3 separate regions of the Homo sapiens genome follow, and all the other regions are linked to region 1. Evidence: promoter capture Hi-C in 16 types of primary human blood cells and fetal thymus (Javierre and others, 2016). All regions are on one chromosome and are shown on one strand. The core of a region is centred on a gene start or on the middle of the fragment in contact, and the rest is flanking DNA. Distances in the headings are between cores, read along the strand shown. Region 1 holds the start of LIMCH1-AS1 (LIMCH1 antisense RNA 1). Region 2 has its middle 14 kb from the start of UCHL1. Region 3 has its middle 37 kb from the start of UCHL1.

What was found. Contacts are between HindIII fragments. The CHiCAGO score rates a contact against its expected background, and 5 or more counts as called.
Region 2: a fragment that was not itself captured here is called in contact with the fragment with the promoter of LIMCH1-AS1 in region 1 in 4 of 17 cell types (M0 macrophages, M2 macrophages, monocytes and 1 more); the score reaches 7.1 in M0 macrophages.
Region 3: a contact is called between a fragment that was not itself captured here and the fragment with the promoter of LIMCH1-AS1 in region 1, in 6 of 17 cell types (M1 macrophages, M2 macrophages, monocytes and 3 more). The highest score is 7.5, in M1 macrophages.

The regions. Positions count from the first base shown.
Region 1 is chr4:41,691,328-41,694,432 of GRCh38, reverse strand. It overlaps LIMCH1-AS1 (LIMCH1 antisense RNA 1), which reads left to right and starts at 1,636. Exons shown (of 3, transcript XR_002959789.2): 1 at 1,636-1,891. LIMCH1 (LIM and calponin homology domains 1) reads right to left here. Exons shown (of 32, transcript NM_001330672.2): 31 at 2,049-2,151. The HindIII fragment of the contact is 18,346 bases long and covers 1-3,105 here.
Region 2 is chr4:41,269,824-41,272,928 of GRCh38, reverse strand. No RefSeq gene overlaps it. Among named protein-coding and RNA genes, the nearest start is that of UCHL1, 14 kb to the right of the region's middle. The HindIII fragment of the contact is 2,755 bases long and covers 131-2,885 here.
Region 3 is chr4:41,292,215-41,295,319 of GRCh38, reverse strand. No RefSeq gene overlaps it. Among named protein-coding and RNA genes, the nearest start is that of UCHL1, 37 kb to the right of the region's middle. The HindIII fragment of the contact is 536 bases long and covers 1,371-1,906 here.

The sequences.
Region 1 (3,105 bases), core at 387-2,886:
ATCATACTTATATGTATCTCTGTGTGTACATGTGTGCAAGTGTGTGCATACACATGTACAAACATATATTCTGCCCCTACCCCAAGAAATTATTGGAAGGTGATTACAATGGAGATCTGCCCTTTTAATGTGGTGTCTTTCTGAACAATTCAATTTTTCTAACATTATAGCATCTGTAACTTTTATTTATTCATTGAATGTCTATAGAAGCAGAGAAAACAATGGGCCTTGTTTTCTATGGTAAATCCTGGTAAAACACTGCATTTCACATATAAAATAAAGAAAAAATCATTTTTGTGGCCTACCTCCAAATCACTTTCTTATTTTTCAGCTGATTACAGGAACTCCATGGTTTTGAAATTAAAAGCAGTTAATGCCCTTTATATTTGTATATTTAAGAGAAAAATTCCTGGTCTTGAATTAAAAAGCTAATTTCCAAAAGAAATGACAAAGAATCACCCAACCTCTCAATTTAAAAAAATCTAGATGAAAAGAGGTCACTGTCACCCAGAGGGGGGTTCAGGTTGTTCTGTTGGCATCCTTCAAGCACTTTAAATTATTAAACAAACTCAGATCTACAGCACTTTTCAAATCTTTCTGAGCAGTCCTTCAACCTAACAGTGCCCTCTTCTGGTTCCATAAATTACATTCACTGTGGTTCACTGAGGTAGAGAAAAAGAATAATTTATAGAAGACGATAGGAAAATTCGCATTGAAATCTGGGAGAAAAGAGTTGTTTTCCTTGTTAGCATATAAAAGCAAAAGTCCAGTTTAAATAAAATGTATATAATTATTACCTATTATACATGTACTATATATGTTAATTTGTGTGTATATATTTATGATATATGGTATACTATTTATATAATTTAATATATAAAATACATAGTATAAAAACTAATATCATGCATGATCTAAATAGTCCAGTTTGATAGCAGCGGCTCTAAGTTGGAACTGTTTTGATCTCAAGTCAAATATTTATTATAAATCTAAACTACCTGGGTTTGATTAAATTTTTATTTCCCATTTTATTAATAGGCATATTTAACTGAATTTACTAAATCTATAGCTATAAAACAAATTACCTTCAATTTTTATTCTCAAAGTTTTCAGTCTTGCAGAGATTTGAGATCCATGTAAAAAGGCAGTAAAAACGTGACTTCACTTTGAGAAATAGTCATTCTTGAATTTCACACTCCCTATCTTCACTCCAATTTTTTAAAAGAGTTTCTGACTGATGAATCTGCACTAAAAGGTCTTCTGCTGTCTAGGTGACCCACCAGAAGGACTGTACTCATGATGGAGAATGAGGAAACATTCCGAGGCAAGCCACTGGCCATTTTCAGATTTTCTAAACAGCGGCTAGGCAACAGCACCCCCTGCTGCCCCGCAAACTAACATGCACCTTCCACAGTAGGAGGCCCGGATGCAAGACGGGAAAGCAAGCAGGCTTCTCACTTACTAAGGCAGCAAATAATTTGTTAAGCGCATATTGTTACTAAGATATTGTAGAGGTGGGAGGTGGGGAAGAATCCACAGAGAAGTGGAACCCTCATTGTTGTCTCTCAAGGAACTTTCCATTCAGTTGGGAACACATATGACGTAATGAAACTCCTGAATGTAGGGCGTGGAGACATTGATGAGTTGGTGCTCGATCTGAGAAACAGTGGAGAGCCGCTCTCCACATTTAACCATCCCCAAATGGTGCCAGTCGTCTAAAGACATGCCTGAACAAGTGACAGTGTTTGACAGACCTTATATCTCCTTTCTATCACACCAAAATCTCTGTAGTGAGCTCAGGCAATGTTTTGACCTGCTGGTGTGCTGATGCACTTCAGGATAAAAAGAATTGGTCCACATTGTAGCAATAACTTCCAGGAAGAAACGAGTGGTAAATATCTTTTCTTTTTTAACCTAGATGTTAAGAAACCTTTCTCTCAGATTAGAGTGTCAACGGCTGGGGAAAAATATTTGAATTCCTAAATTGGGTCCTATGGAAGACATACGATTACACTCGGTCATCATGAGGCATTCTCCCCAGTACTTACTTCTGGATCGCATGTAGCAATCATTACAGTTCAGGAGACCATTTCGAATCCTAACATCCGTCCCACTCACTGCATCTCCAAGCTGGCCTTTACAAATTCCACACTATAGGGTAAAAAGAACAGACATCATAAGATGCATAAGGAATTGTTTCTTTCTAATGCTTAGTTACTGTTTATGTGAATAGCACAATAATCCCTTCTACAATCACCACATTTGTGGAGCATCTATTATGTGTAAGATGCTGCACCAGTGTCAACTTACAGCAAAAGCAAATATACAGTTAGCAATTTTAGCTTAATTCCTTGCATTTTACAGAGAAGGACACTGGTTCAGTGAGGTTTGTTGGCTTGTTCCTAGGTTGTGGAGCTGATAAGTGGTAGCAGGTTGACTCCAAAGCCTAGCGTCTTAACCTCTATCATACACCGTTTCTCAATCAAAATGGAAGAACCATTTTAAACACATTAAACCCTAGTGGCTTTAAATAAACACATGGCCAATGAGTTATCAATTGAAATGTGTCCATCAATAATCTTTAAAGGCTTGCCAGCATCGTTGCTAAGTTCTACCAGATCAAAATTTCTAGGAAGTACCTGTTCCATTTGTTTATTTTATTTATTTTTTAAGACAGTGTCTCGCTCTGTAGGCCAGGCTGGAGTGCAATGGCATGATCTCAGCTCACTGCAACCTCCACTTCCTGGGCTCAAGCAATTCTCCTGCCTCAGCCTCCTGAGTAGATGGGATTACAGGCGTGTGCCACCACGCCTGGCTATTTTTTTTTTTTTTTTTTTTTTGTATTTTTAGTAAAGATGGAGTTTCACCATGTTGGCCAGGCTGGTCTCGAACTTCTGACCTCAGGTTATCTGCCCACCTTGGCCTCCCAAAGTGCTGGGATTACAGGCATGAGCCACCGTGCCCAGCCTGCTGTTCCATTTTATATTTCCACATTAAAAGCAGTGATATTCAGAGCAACAAATCCACTGGGAATTTCCACCAACACAGGCTGAGTGCAGAAAGAGACTGTAGGATATACTTGGATGTTTGTACCAGAAGGGTAGA
Region 2 (3,105 bases), core at 259-2,758, 420 kb after region 1:
TCCTGATACCAAAGCCTGGCAGAGACACAACCAAAAAAGAGAATTTTAGACCAATATCCTTCATGAACATTGATGCAAAAATCCTCAATAAAATACTGGTAAACTGAATCCAGCAGCACATCAAAAAGCTTACCCACCATGATCAAGTGGGCTTCATCCCTGGGACGCAAGGCTGGTTCAACATATGAAAATCAATAAATGTAATCCAGCATATAAACAGAACCAAAGACAAAAAACACATGATCATCTCAATAGATGCAGAAAAGGCCTTTGACAAAATTCAACAACGCTTCATGCTAAAAACTCTCAATAAATTAGGTATTGATGGGATGTATCTCAAAATAATAAGAGCTATCTATGACAAACCCACAGCCAATATCATACTGAATGGACAAAAACTGGAAGCATTCCCTTTGAAAACTGGCACAAGACAGGGATGCCCTCTCTTACCACTCCTATTCAACTTAGTGTTGGAAGCTCTGGCCAGGGCAATCAGGCAAGAGAAAGAAATAAAGGGTATTCAATTAGGAAAAGAGGAAGTCAAATTGTCCCTGTTTGCAGATGACATGATTGTATATCTAGAAAACCCCATTGTCTCAGCCCAAAATCTCCTTAAGCTGATAAGCAACTTCAGCAAAGTCTCAGGATACAAAATCAATGTGCAAAAATCACAAGCATTCTTATACACCAATAACAGACAAACAGAGAGCCAAATCATGAGTGAACTCCCATTCACAATTGTTTCAAAGAGAATAAAATACCTAGGAATCCAACTTACAAGGGATGTGAAGGACCTCTTCAAGGAGAACTACAAACCACTGCTCAATGAAATAAAAGAGGATACAAACAAATGGAAGAACATTCCATGCTCATGGGTAGAAAGAATCAATATCGTGAAAATGGCCATACTACCCAAGGTAATTTATAGATTCAATGCCATCCCCATCAAGCTACCAATGACTTTCTTCACAGAATTGGAAAAAACTACTTTAAAGTTCATATGGAATGAAAAAAGAGCCCGCATCACCAAGTCAATCCTAAGCCAAAAGAACAAAGCTGGAGGCATCATGCTACCTGACTTCAAACTATACTACAAGGCTACAGTAACCAAAACAGCATGGTACTGGTACCAAAACAGAGATATAGACCAATGGAACAGAACAGAGCCCTCAGAAATAATGCCGCATATCTACAACTATTTGATCTTTGACAAACCTGACAAAAACAAGCAATGGGGAAAGGATTCCCTATTTAATAAATGGTGCTGGGAAAACGGGCTAGCCATATGTAGAGAGCTGAAACTGGATCCCTTCCTTACACTTTATACAAAAATTAATTCAAGATGGATTAAAGACTTACATGTTAGACTTAAAACCATAAAAACCCTAGAAGAAAACCTAGGCAATACCATTCAGGACATAGGCATGGGCAAGGACTTCATGTCTAAAACACCAAAAGCAATGGCAACAAAAGACAAAATTGACAAATGGGATCTAATTAAACTAAAGAGCTTCTGCACAGCAAAAGAAAATACCATCAGAGTGAACAGGCAACCTACAGAATGGGAGAAAATTTTCACAACCTACTCATCTGACAAAGGGCTAATATCCAGAATCTACAATGAACTCAAACAAATTGACAAGAAAAAAACAAACAACACCATCAAAAAGTGGGTGAAGGATATGAACAGACACTTCTCAAAAGAAGACATTTATGCAGCCAAAAAACACATGAAAAAATGCTCATCATCACTGGCCATCAGAGAAATGCAAATCAAAACCACAACGAGATACCATCTCACACCAGTTAGAATGGCAATCATTAAAAAGTCAGGAAACAACAGGTGCTGGAGAGGATGTGGAGAAGTAGGAACACTATTACACTGTTGGTGGGACTGTAAACTAGTTCAACCATTGTGGAAGTCAGTGTGGCCATTCCTCAGGGATCTAGAACTAGAAATACCATTTGACCCAGCCATCCCATTACTGGGTATATACCCAAAGGATTATAAATCATGCTGCTATAAAGACACATGCACACGTATGTTTATTGTGGCACTATTCACAATAGCAAAGACTTGGAACCAACCTAAATGTCCAACAATGATAGACTGGATTAAGAAAATGTGGCACATATACACCATGGAATACTATGCAGCCATAAAAAATGATGAGTTCATGTCCTTTGTAGGGACATGGATGAAGCTGGAAACCATCATTCTCAGCAAACTATCACAAGGACAAAAAACCAAACACCGCATGTTCTCACTCATAGGTGGGAACTGAACAATGAGAACACATGGACACAGGAAGGGGAACATCACACACCGGGGACTGTTGTGGGGTTGGGGGAGGGGGGAGGGATAGCATTAGGAGATATAGCTAATGCTAAATGACAAGTTAATGGGTGCAGCACACCAACATGGCACATGTATACATATGTAACAAACCTGCATGTTGTGCACATGTACCCTAAAACTTAAAGTATAATAATTTTTAAAAAAAAGAAATTGCAGATAATTTGAATACATGAATAAATTTTCTGTAAATTATGCCCCCCCCCCAAAAAAAAAAAGTTGGAATCAGGAATATTACCACCATAATCAGGGCTTAGAGAACTGTGAATAAGGCAGTTGAGACCCAAGTTATCTGGATTCCTGGCACCAGACAGGACAGAGCCCTTTTGTGAGGATCACAGTATAGGCAGGAAGCATTGGGTTTCTTCCCTGCTTCCCTCATTTTGTGTAACTGGAAGTGAACTGTTACATTCAACGTCCATTGTTGAGAACAGACGTCCTCCTTTAATATTTAATGAAAACCTATACATTACATAATAGTGTATCCTTATCTATAAAACAAGGGCACATTGATCTATAAAGTAAAGCTTAACAACAAATGCCAAAGACTTTTGCTTTTTTAAAAAAAAAAACTAATTTCTAGACAGTAAGGAATTGCTAAGAAAAACAAAACATGCTACACTGATTGGGGTATGTCAAAGCAACATAGGAGCCAACTGAAAGAGCTCCCAACAACTAAAGCAGAACAATGTGGGCAACAGGTAGTACTGGATTATAACATAAATCCACAGTATATGATATGAGTTCAT
Region 3 (3,105 bases), core at 389-2,888, 400 kb after region 1:
ATCTTCTTAAGGGTTTTCTGCCTCAAGTAGAACCATATTCTGGTCAGAAGCAATCATAGAGCTCCTTGGCTTGGAGGAAGGCTACAGCAGCTTCCTTTAATTAGCTTAGGATCCAGATAGATAGAGAATGGACACAGCCCACCAGAGACTTCCCCCAAGACCCAACCCTGGACACTCTGCCAACCAGGCCCCTTGGAGGAGATGTCAAAGCTCACCAGGGATCTCTGTTTCGCCCCACATGACAGCAAGCTGTCACCGAGGATTCTCTTTCTTTACTCTTTGTGCATCTCAATCCTTTTCTTCCTGCTTCCATGACTTGTTCCCAGCTACTTCACGGGCAGGTGTTAGGTTCTAACTGAGGTCCGAGGGGAGTCAGTGGGGTGGCAGGTAGCTGGAAAAACATTCGAGGAATTGTAGACAGTTTCAACATGGCTTTTACCCTCTCTCTGGCACAAGCGAGCCTAGGCATGAGCTGTGGGCACGAGCTGTATGTACATTCTCTCCCTGGGCATGAGCCATATGTACAGTGTCAGCAGGGTAATTATACCTTTTACAGGCAATAGTGACTCCAAGCCAAGCATGAGCTCACATGGGTGATCACCTAATGCACCTTACGTGGCGTGGTTACATAATGTGCCTGACATGGCATGGTTAAATACTGTGTGGAGTTGTGCACCTGCACTCCAAACCTGCTGAGTTATGCTGCACCAGAAGGCTTCCTCAGACTACTCCTGACTAAAGCACAGCCATCTCCCTTACAGCAGGCTGAGACACCCTTACCTTTCTAATTCTCAGCTTCTGGATATACTGCTGTGTAGAACTGCACATGCTCAAGGACTCAATAAGTAACCATGAAACATGAGCACAATTTGCTTTCCAAAAGAATGGCTGCAACAGTGATTCATTTCAGTTATTCCTCAAACTCAGGGATGGTAGCTTATAAAACAAAAAATAATAAACTTTGGATACTTGGGCCCCACCCAGAATTAGCATCTCTGGGAGTAAGGAATTTGATTTTTTCTTTAAGGAGGTTTTGTAGAATAGCCAACACTGAGGGCTAGACTAGATGGTGTTTCTCAAGTGTGCCTGGTCAGGAGAATTAGCTGGGTAGCATATTAAGTCCACCAAGTCCCAGCCTTCCTCTGGAGATCCAAGTTTAATAGGTCTGGATGGGCCAGGCTCAGTGGCTCACACCTGTAATCCTAGCACTTTGGGAGGCTGAGGCAGGAGAATCGCTTGAACCCAGAAGGTGGAGGTTGCAGTGAGCCAAGGTTGCACCACTGCACTCCAGCCTGGGTGATAGAGTGAGACTCTGTCTCAAAAAAAAAAAAAAAAAAGTCTAGATGGGCCTATCAATAGATTTGGAAGCTTAACAGGATCCCCTGGTGATTCTTACAATTGAGCAGGCTTGGGAAGCACTGGGTATATCTGGGTTTCCCAAACTTCTCTTGTATAAGAATTACTTGGTGTTGGCCGGGCACGGTGGCTCATGCTTGTAATCCCAGCACTCTGGGAGGCTGAGGCAGGTGGATCACGAGGTCAGAATTTTGAGACCATCCTGGCTAACACCGTGAAACCCCGTCTCTACTAAAAAAATTAGCCGGGTGTGGTGGCACGGGCCTGTAGTCTCAGCTACTCGGGAGGCTGAGGCAGGAGAATCGCTTGAACCTGGGAGGCAGAGGTTGCAGTGAACCGAGATCATGCCACTGTACTCCAGCCTGGGCAACAGAGACTCCATCTCAAAAAAAGAAAGAAGAATTACCTGGTGTTCTATTTGAAAGCACAGATTCCTTTGCCCCCATCCAGATAAACAGAATGAGACTTCCTGGCTTTGAGGTCTGGCAATCTATTTATTTAACAAAGACTTCCACTTGATTCTTATTATCTGAGAAATGGCAACAAAGCTTTGTTGATTGTCAACTTTGTCTTGCCCATAGCATCATCAGGGAACTTTTGTGTGTGTGGTAAAATACACAAACATAGCATTTACCATTAGTGACATATAATCTGTTCTAATACGTTCAGAATATACAGCCATCACCACTGTCTAGTTCCAGAACACTTTCATCTCTCATCTGGGAACTTCTAAAACATACAGATGCCCAGGCTGTACCCCAACTGAATAAATGAGAATCCCTGTGGTGGAACCCACACATTGGGACTCCTTAAGGCATTCCAGTTGATTACAATGTACAGTCAAGTTTGGGACCACTCAGGATTCCTGCCCTCCAGAAAGCCTTGTTAATGCATCCCATGGGGGACTCTCGTGCTGCTACTCTGCAGTCCATTAAGTGCAACCTCACATGGCTCTATGCCATTCTGGCATTCTGGTTTCTTTTCTTTTCTTTCCTCCCTCCTTCTCTCCCTCTTTTCTTTTCTCTTTTCTTTTCTTTTCTTTTCTTTTCTTTCTTTCTTTCTTTCTTTCTTTCTTTCTTTCTTTCTTTCTTTCTTTCTTTCTTTTCTTTCTCTTTCTCTCTCTCTTTCTTTCTTAGAAAAGACATCTATATGAGTGAATTAACCCTTTATCTTTCTTTTTTTAGAAAAGACATCTATAGGCCAGGCACAGTGGCTCATGCCTGTAATCCCAGCACTTTGGGAGGCCGAGGTGGGAGGATCATGAGGTCAGGAGATCGAGACCATCCTGGCTAACATGGTGAAACCCTGTCTCTACTAAAAATACAAAAACAAAATTAGCCGGGAGTTGTGGTGGGCACCTGTAGTCCTAGCTACTCAGGAGGCTAAGGAAGGAGAATGGCATGAACCCAGGAAGTGGAGCTTGCAGTGAGCCGAGATCGCACCACTGCACTTCAGCCTGGGTGACAGAGCAAGACTCCGTCTCAAAAAAAAAAAAAAAAAAAAAGAAAAGAAAAGAAAAGAAAAGACATCTATATGAGTGAATTAACCCTTTATAGATGAGTGAATTAACCCTATATATTTTAACCCTTTATCAGACATATGATTTGCAAATATTTTCTCTCATTGTATAGGTTACCTTTTCATTCTTTTTATGTATGACATATAAAGATGCTCAATATCACTAATCATTAGGAAAACGCAAATCAAAACCACAATGAGATAGCACCTCCATACCCACTAGGATGATTA